Linked DNA regions of Homo sapiens: region 1 is linked to region 2. Evidence: promoter capture Hi-C in 16 types of primary human blood cells and fetal thymus (Javierre and others, 2016). All regions are on one chromosome and are shown on one strand. Each heading gives the region's core, a stretch centred on a gene start or on the middle of the fragment in contact. The rest is flanking DNA. Distances are from core to core; before and after follow the strand shown.

Region 1 (5,111 bases), core at 1,626-4,125, 290 kb after region 2:
ACCCCGTCTCTACAAAAACACAAAAATTAGCCAGGCATGATGGCAGGTACCTGTAATCCCAGCTACTCGGGAGGCTGAGGCAGGAGAATCGCTTGAACCTGGGAGGTGGAAGTTACAGTGAGCTGAGATTGTGCCATTGCACTCCAGCCTGGGTGACAGAGCGAGACTCCATCTCAAAAAAAAAAAAAAAAAAAAAAAAAAAAATCCCAAAGAGTGGACATAAAACCTCCTAGAACTAATAAGTAATTATAGCAAAGTACTAGAATACAAGATTAATATGCATGTCAATTGCATTCTTACATATCAGCAATTAACAATTAGAATTTGTTTCATTTATGTTAACATTATCTTAGCACCAATATTGCCACCAAAAAACCTGAATTGGTGTAAAGCTAATAAAATATGTGCAAAACCTATATGAAGAGAACTATAAAACTCTAACGAAGAGGTTCAAAGAAGACCTAAATAAATGGAAAGATATTGCATTTCATGGATGGTTATGCCCTAACATTTCCCTAAAAATAAAATATATTAATAAAAAAGTAATAAATGCACAGGATAAAAGATGCATTCATTATAAAAAGAAATTAAATTGAAGTATGTTCCCCTTAGACTTACAACTCTACTTCCTATTGTTGCAATGTTCTTATACTTCCTTGTAGAACATTATCTGTTTACTAACATAAATATATGTGCATATTTATTTATTTATTTATTTAGAAATGGAGTCTTGCTCTGTCACCCAGGCTGGAGTGCAGTGGTCTGATCTTGGCTCACTGCAACCTCCTCCTCCTGGGTTCAAGTGATTCTCCAGCCTCAGCCTCCTGAGTAGCTGGGATTACAGGCACGCACCACCATGCCTGGCTAATTTTTGTATTTTTAGTAAAGACGGGGTTTCACCATGTTGGTCAGGCTGGTCTCGAACTCCTGACCTCGTGATCCACCCGCCCCCGCCTCCCAAAGTGCTAGGATTACAGGTGTGAGCCACTGCACCTGGCCATACGTGCATATTTATATGTGCACTTATATATGTGCATACCTATACTCCTTTTATTTACACAATTTTCATAGTGATTTATTTTGATAACATTGCTTGGAGATCTATATTGGCACATAGATATATATCTCATTATTTTAAAAAATTGAGTAGTATTTGCCAAATATTGATGAATTCTAAAATTTTTGTGTTGTCCTTGTTTTTTGTTGTTGTATCCACAGCAAAAATTTCTATCTGTAGAATTATTAGGCCAAAGGCATGCACATTTTAAATGTCAGTAAATATTGCCAAATTACCCTCCTAATTTTGTAGCAATTGATAATATCAATTTTCCCACATCTATTTTTGCCATTCCCATGGGTGAGAAAGCATATTTTATTTAATTTTCATTTGTGTTTATATAATTATGAATCATATTGTTCCTTCATATTTATTAAATTATTGTATTTTTTATAACGAATCATTTCAAGTTCCTTTTATATTTCTACTTGTACAGCTAGACTCCCTCATTAGTTTTTAATATTTTCCTGATTCTTTTAGGATATTTTCCAGATGAACTTGACAACAATAGTCACAATAAAACACAGTTTCTCCTATTATTAACATTTTGCATTCGTGTAGTATATTTGTTACAATTGAAACTTAGTATCATATTGTGATTATGAAATAATTTAGAGAGCAGTGATATCTTTAAAATATTTTTTCTGTTAAGAAATATAGCTTTATTTCTCATTTATGTCTCTTAGAAGGGTTTGAAGTTTCAAAATTTAAGTAATATATATGTTAATCTTATTTCTAGAAATATCATTTTCCAGTCTTTTAAATAGTGACAATCTAATTCTGTGACAACATGCCTTATGATAATCTAAGGAACACAATACTTACTTAAATACATTTTTTCCCTCCTATCAACAATTGTTTTCATACAAACCTTTCAAAAACCAGATTCTGTTATTTTAGTGCTAATCCTAGAAATAAGAACTTTTATGGTTGAGTTATGAAGCACTTAATATGATATTTACCACTTTTCTGTTCATTCCTCACACATTTATTATATCCAAAAACCATGGACTCTTGCACCTTCCTTTATGAGATAAGCTTTATAAAACTATAATTTTAGAAATCAGTAACTGGTTTCTGTACAATTCCAGATAGAATATTATCACAGAAATTACTCAAAGTAGGGAAGTCATTTTCGGGGTGGGGTAGGGTGGGGATGGCATGGGTTTTGGGGATGAGATAGCTGAATGGGAACACAAATTTTCAAAAAAAAATTATTTTATCCAAAGTTTATTGGATTCTCATCTTCTTTGGGCAAGCAAAGAAAATGAAGACAGTAACAAAAAAATATAAAGCTGGGTGTGAGATCTAATATTACCAGTGCACATTTCTATGCTGCAACTTACGTATACTTCAGGACAACATTGTGAGATACATTCTTTGTTATTTTACAGATCAGAAAATACAGGCCCAGGATGCTAGAGTAAATTTCCAAAAGTCACAATCATAGACTTAGTTACGAAGGCCTGGGACTTGAACTCAGTCCTAGCCTGACTCCAAAGCCCATGTTCTCTTCATAATGCACTCTGCCATTCAGAAACCATTGATTGCATAGGGAAAGAATACCAGGTAATGCACTATGGGTAATAGAACAGAGTAATAAAATATAAATATTAAGCGCAAATAAAATGGAAAAAAATTCAAACAAGCACATTTTCCACTTATATTCTATAGGGAATTTCATCAGGCATATTACATTTTATGATACAAATAGCATAAACGCCACTGCTTCTACGTTATATACTTGGTTTTTTTAATGCCGAATCATCCTGTCTCTCTATTGCTTATAATACATGGTCTTTCCTATGAAATATTTTATTAGCAAGCTATTTAAGAACCTGAATTTATTTTCTCTTATAGAATAAGGACTTGATATCAGCCATTTAACAGAGGCAGGCTGTAGCCACTTCCCTTCCCTAATCCACTTTCATTAATTTTTTCTTTGTTCTTGGCATTATAACCTTTCTGTGTATACTCCCATACATTTCTCAGGCTGTAAAGAGTAAGCCATTTAAAAACAGCAAATCGAGAAATTTAGAGTTGAGAAAGCCCCTGGAGGTCGTCTGGATTACCATCCCTTATAATGCCTTATATATAGCCAGAAACAGTGTATAAAATTACACTCAGAACTGATCTAGAAGACATCACTTCTCCACAAACACAATGACTTTCACTGCCGACAACATTCAGTGCTTGACTTAACTCCAGTGCTTCGAGAAATTGGATCTATAGCCCTGATTTTATCCTCACTAGAATGAATTCCAAGTATTCTCTGCTACTTTGCATCTCTGGCTCATACTGCAGGTGCTGCTGATTAGACCCTAGCTTTATGCCTGCATCTAGCTCCAAGGGTCTGAGAAAGCAGGTATCTGATATCTATGGTAGGAAAAAAAACTGTCAAACATCCACTACATTTGTCAAGATCTCTATTACAACATAGCTTCTGAAACTGAATGCATCATTCCAGATGGCTTCTGACCAATGCAGTATGCAATGCAATTAGCCACCTTGGTCTGAACAGAATGCATAATTATATTGAAGCACATGCTAAGATTATATGAGTGATTTTCATATCCACATCAAAGGGTTGGTTCACAATTAAGCTTTCAGTTAACTATAACCCTAAAACTCCGTCATCTTTTACTGCTGTTTCATCATGTGTTCTCCCATCCTGCATTTGTACATTTGTGGCTTGATTTTTTAACCCAAATATAGAACTTCATAATTAGCCCTGTTACATTTCACTTTGTTAGTTTTGGCCCATCTTTCCAATATTTTTCAATCTTTTTGAATACTGTCTCTATCATCCAATATAGTAACTACTGCTACACAGCTTTGTATTATACACGTACTGGATAAACATGCTTTTGGTTTTAGTCCAAATTCCTGATAAAAATGCTGAAAATAATATAATACATATAAAACACTGTGGGATACCACACAATATTTTCATCCACGGTGGAATCGAACCATTAATTCATATTTCAAGCCATTGACTAAATTTATCTAGAGTTATGTTCAAAATGTGTTCTTTTTTTAGTTTGCATTATGATGATGATGATGATGATGCAAAGGGACACATGAAAGATATTTAAAAGAAAATTTCTTTATGGTATAAGCATTATGCAATAAGGAAGTAGGATGTGATTAATAATCAAAGATAACATATTCTCCAATGTGTGGACAATATATTCTTAAAAAATAAAATTATAAATCCCAGATTACTATCATGTATACTTTGTAGACCTGTCATAATATCATATTACTATAAATCTCAGAGCAAACAGCAAACATTTTCTGTGAAAGACCAGATAGTAAATATTTTGACTTTGCATTCCATGTGCTTTCTCTTGGAAATACCTAACTCTGCCCTTGTAGAGAAAAAGCAGCCATAGACAATACATATATGAGTGGAAATGATTGTTCCCATAAAACTTGACTTGTAAATATATGTGGCAGGCCAGATTTGGCCCATAGGCTCTAGTTTGTCCAACTGTTTTTAGAAGATGGTCTATACAAGGCCCACAAAGTGGGCATGTGGACTCACATATAGATGAATATATTACAATATTACAATATTCCCATAGTGTATATTTAATATTTTAAAAATTTCATATACTAGGTTTTCAAGAGCCAGAACTGTCTTGTTTCTTTTTTCTTTTTTTTTTTTTTTTTTTTGAGACAGAGTCTCGCTCTGTCGCCCAGGCTGGAGTGCAGTCGTGCAATCTCCGCTCACTGCAAGCTCCGCCTCCCGGGTTCACGCCATTCTCCTGCCTTAGCCTCCCCAGCAGCTGGGACTACAGGCATACACGACCACGCCTGGCTAATTTTTTTTTTTTTTTTTTGTATTTTTAATAGAGACGGGGTTTCACTGTGTTAGCCAGGATGGTCTCGATCTCCTGACCTTGTGATCCGCCCACCTCGGCCTCCCAAAGTGCTGGGATTACAGGCATGAGCCACTGTGCCCGGCCTGTCTTGTTTCATTTTGAACTTCAGTACCTAACAATGTTCTGGCACTTGCTAGTTGCTCCATATAAGTTGGTCATTATTCAAA
Region 2 (4,997 bases), core at 1,516-4,015:
GTGTTAGCTGTTTATGTATTTTTTTTTTGTTTACCTGTTTATCCTGATGTTCTTACGGTGCAGTTGAAAAAATTCTTGGTGGAAAGACACAGTAAAAGTAAAAAAACATCTTGGGAGTGGGGGCTCGTTTCAGAACTAATCCAGGTCCTATGAAAAGGAAAACTAAGAAAAGTTTTAAATATTCGAAGTACTAATGAAGGGGCTGGGAAACAGGCAAATCCCTGCAATGCTAGAGGGTGGGAGAGTGAACTGGCAGAACCCACCAAGAAGGGAATCTGGCCATTTATATCCACAAACTTGAATCCAGAAATTTCACTTCTAGGTATCAAATGTTAGGAAGTAATAATAGACAGAGAAGGCATTTACAAGAATGCTCTTAGCAGCATCATTTATTTTTTAAAAAGGAAATAGCTATCTATCTGGAAAGGGCTGGTGGTGGTGTGATACATGGATAAGACAATAAGATATGGTAATCAAAATCACATTTGAATAATATTAAAGTTAAGGGAAAACATTGCACCTTCTATAATGCCAAGTGGAAAAATATCAGTATCCCAAAGTATCTCGAATTAGTAAAATATATTGAATTTATAACTGCACAGGGAAAAAAAGACTGGAAAGAAATAGATGAAAATGCTAACAGTATGGTAACGTGGAGTGATTCGAATTTTCTCTTTTTTGAAATTTTTTTTTCCAAAATTTCTAGGATGAGTATATGTTACTTATTAATGAAATGAATTCTATTTCCGAAAGCATGATTAAGAGAATTGTGTGTTCGCACAGGCTCCCGCCTATTTCTGTGTGCAATGAGGGGCGAAATAAAGTGTTGGAATAATCACTGGGGATTATCCTTTAGGATTACTGAATTTATGTTTAGGTTGGCATTATTCAATCGGGTTCCTCGCCTCAGTTACCCACTCCTTTCTGAAAGACCCCAGTTCTGGTACTAGCACGTCACCTAGAAGGAAGAATCCTGGAATGGCACGGGTCCAAACTAGAGGCGGCCTCTCAGCATGGACCCGCTTCAACCTCATCTGCATGGCAGGCGTTTTGCAAGGCGTCAGAAGGCATCTCCTCTTTGGACTTTTTGTCTCCCCTGGTAGTCTCTAGAAGCCATTAGAGTGAAAGCTATCTTTCCTACCTACAGCTAAAAATGTAAAAGTGAGCGCGCTCAGGCGGCCCTGCTCCTAGAAAGATCCAGGCCCCTTCATACCCCAACCCCTGGCCGGGGACAGTTGGTAGCGGTGGCTGGTGGCGAAGCTGCAGGGCGCCCAAGGCCCCCTGCGGCCCAGGAGTGACCCGAGTGCACTCGCCCCTTACTCTGGCCTGGGGCCTGAAGAAGGCACTGGAACACGGAAGCTGATGCTGCACTTTAGATGCAAAGCGTAGATTTGCACTCTGGCTAAGGCACTGAATGAACACCACTGTGGCCCTGGGACAAGGAGCTGTGGTCCGTCTGGGATCAACTAGGTGGCGAAGGGGAGGGAGAAAGGAAGAGAGAGGGCTTGCGCGCGGGAGAGAGGAAGGGACGGGAGGGAGAGGGAATGGAAGACAGGAAGGGTGTCCCTTCTCAGAGGTCGCACTTTGTCAGCAGTTCCTCTCGACTGCTCTGCCTTCCATTTTTCCTTTCCTCAGTTCCTGGACAAGCCTCGGAGGACCAGGCAGAACCCTCTGGCTAGCAGAAAAGCTCGCACCCCCGCACCCTTGCGGCGTCTGCTTCAGACCCTCCACGCAGGCGCCCGCTGGAGCGCCTGCTGGGGATGGCGTACCACCGACCCTTCAGGCTTTTTAAAAACGTAAGAATTTCTACTTTATTATCTCTATGAAAAAAAAAATGTAAAGAAGAGAGGTTAGATTTTATAGAAGCTCCAAAGTCTGCCATTTGCGAGGAGGGTTCACTTCCCACCCACCCAGCCCACGGAAGCTCTTAGGAGCAGCCTGAACGGCCCCGACTCAGCCTCACGCTCTCTGACTTCCCCGCTCGCCCCTGACCCCGACTTCACTTAGGGCGGTCGCGTAGATATGAACTCTACAGCAGCCACTCTGCTCAGCGCATGTGGGGATCTTACAATCTCGACCCCGACCTCCAGAAGACCAGACGTTCTGTCTTGGGGCCTCCCTCCCGGCCCTTTAGCCTCACCCAGTGCCCGGTCCTGACACACCCCAGCACTACCAGACGAGGAAGGGCAGACTCTCCACACCAGGCTCAGCCGCTTTCCTTCTTCTCACAGCTCTCCAAGAGCTCGGTCATGAAGGAGATATAGACGATGGCCAGGCGGAGGGTCTCGATCCGGGACAGCCTTTTCTCGTAAGCAAACGTGGGCACCTTCCTCCGCAGCTGGTCAAAGGCCTCGTTGAGGTTGAACATCCGCTTCCTTTCGCGGATGTTGGCGGCCTGGCGCTGGGCGTAGGTGATCACCCTTTTCCTCTTGGGGCGGCCTAATAGGGAGACACCTCTTCCGCGCTCCTCTTCCTCCTCCTCTTCTCCGTCCCCCTGGTCCACTTCGCACTCCTCTTCTTCTGGGTCCCCCTCTTCAAACCGCGCCATCCTCCTGGGTCTTCCCTCTCGGAGCGCAAGGGCTGGGTCCCCCAAGGAGACCCCGGGTGCGAAGTCGCAGAGGAGAGGGCGTCTCGGGGAGGCCAGGGACAGGTCTGCGACGAAGTCCAGCACCGTAGTGTCCACGCAGCTCTCCGGATAGGCCGCCATCGCTTCGGCTTGGCCCTGCCTCTCATCGGTTTTCCGCAGGGAGGGGCGAGGTTGCTGGTGGGGATTCTTAACAGCCTTGAATCTGATGGGGCACCATCACCGAAAGGCCAGGGAACATTAAATATTTATAACCAAGCTGATAACAGGATTAGTCGCACCGATAAGGAATGCTCTGACAACGTCCCTTCTCTCGAAGCTTATGGAAGATGACAAGCTTGAGCACGCATGGAAGACTCAAAGGGACAGGGCTCCAGTTCTGAGATCCTTTTCTCTGCGCCACCCGGGACAGTTCCTTGTTGGCAACAACCCCCAGCTCTTACCTGCTGTGCTTTTTGTGTCTGTCTTCACCCCTGCAGCCAACTAATGTTCTCCAGGCTCCTTATCTCGTGTAGTTCTTTAATTTCGTGTTGGATTTTCAAAGCGAGGATGTTTTCCACCGCGATGGCTTCTCCTTGACTTCAGGGTAGGAGTCTTGAATCTTGCCACCATCTGCCAATGGATGTGGAGCAAGTGCATGTGCTTTTAATGATGTCCTGAAGAGGGGCCCTGCCTGCCTGGCATCAAGGGGAGCTGTTTGTCTGGTATCCCAGTGCAGCGGCTGCTGAAAGGCAAGACCTTCAATTAGCTTAAGTAAGCATGGCAGGGGGACCGAGAGTGCATTCCCCAGAGTCGCTGTTGGAACCGGCTTTCTTTTCTTTCCAGGGCATCGCAAACAGCTCTCCTGCCACGTTACAAACCCTGACTTCTAAAGTCTGTTTGGATGCAATCAGCGTAACAATTGAGATACTTGACTTTCCTTTCCCTACCTTTACCTCCTACTCATATAAAATAGAGGATTTTATTCCAAGAGGAAAAGTTATGATGGCAATAAAATGAGAAATTTAAGCTCAGGATATTTTCTATGCTCGGGCTTTGCTGTATACTTTTCAGTGTGGGGGACAAAGCAAACTCTCCTCACAAACAAAACCACTTCAAGCTCTTTTCAGAAATGCGATTTGCCCTTGATAAGCCAAAGAGTCAATCAGCTCACCCTCTGCTGAGGAGTCTTCGGACTTTTAAATTGCGGATCGAGTATTTGTTCCCGAACAAAGAAAAAAACCTAACACTTCCATCTGGCGTATTTTCCTCATTGATTTGTATTGTCCTACAGTAAGACTTAAGTGCAGAAACAATGATTTATTGAAATATATTTAAGGGAGTTTTTGGCTATCGTTAGATCGTTATTTTTGAGAAAAGAAAGAGATTTTAAATTTGGCATAAGAAAAATAAGAGATTACTCATTTTATATTATCTCGAGTATCCCAAATATTTTAACAAAAAGGTTCTTTTTCTTTGTTTGCCAATAACTATATTTACTTAATTATTCAGTACTGTGTAAAGATTTATTTAAAAGACCCATTGTGTCAAAGTGACAGATTAGAAGATAATTTTAAAGGTAGATTGGAAGAAATAGCCTAAAAAGATGAATGTAGAAACATCCCGGTTCAAAAGAGAACTGCCCAGGACGTCAGTCCCTATTAAGGGGGTAAGTTGTGGTTATGATGGTTCACTCAGTACATTGGACAGCTCCCAGAAACCAGAAACCGCCTATTTCTAACAGGTAATCTCAATTCATTTTCTTCTTCCTAGCCTCTATGTGTGTAATCAAAACAGTATAACCTTTAATTCTTCTTCTTCTTTTAACCCATTTGTGTCTGGTGTCTCTCGATCTTTTAATAGATTTTATCTTCTTTTGCTTGTGTTTACTCTTCATTCTCCAGTTTGAATTGTGATAACTCAGGCAGAGAATAATTGAAATTTGTGATCCTGGAAGATGTTAAAGAGAATGAGATCTTTGGTTGTTACTTAGTTGATTTTTGCTAAGCATCTTTCAAAGGGAAGGCTGAAAAATAAATAATAGGATTGTCAACAGTGGCTATGAAGCTAGTAAATGGGAGAACTGATTTTTGTTTCAAAAAAGTAGTAACATGCTTGCTAACCCTCGTTTAAATTAATATGTTATTAAATATTTGGACAAATTTCTTGTTGATTTTTAAATTATGTTAAATGCTTCTCAGTGACTTATTTTGTATTCATTTACAATCTATTTGCAAGTGGATTAAACACCTCAGTCAATTGAGAATCTAGTTTCGCAATATAATACACTGGAAAACAATGAAGGAAAACATGGTTGATATTTAAATTTAAAATTTCATAAAATGGGGGTCAGAAGCCTTCATGAGACTAAAGAGATAGTTTCATTGGACTGAACTCCTTTATGATTTTAGCCAAGGCAATGTACCTTTCTTGC

Evidence for each region. The method cuts DNA at HindIII sites, captures the fragments that hold promoters and counts their contacts. A CHiCAGO score of 5 or more calls a contact.
Region 1: a contact is called between a fragment that was not itself captured here and the fragment with the promoter of FERD3L in region 2, in 3 of 17 cell types (M0 macrophages, M1 macrophages and megakaryocytes). The highest score is 6.3, in M0 macrophages.

What each region holds. Positions count from the first base shown.
Region 1 is chr7:19,434,081-19,439,191 of GRCh38, forward strand. No RefSeq gene overlaps it. Among named protein-coding and RNA genes, the nearest start is that of MIR3146, 270 kb to the right of the region's middle. The HindIII fragment of the contact is 1,565 bases long and covers 2,094-3,658 here.
Region 2 is chr7:19,142,656-19,147,652 of GRCh38, forward strand. It overlaps FERD3L (Fer3 like bHLH transcription factor), which reads right to left and starts at 2,766. Exons shown (of 1, transcript NM_152898.2): 1 at 2,127-2,766. The coding sequence starts at 2,707. The coding sequence ends at 2,207. RefSeq lists enhancers at 1,499-2,698, 3,164-3,812. The HindIII fragment of the contact is 4,985 bases long and covers 1-2,901 here.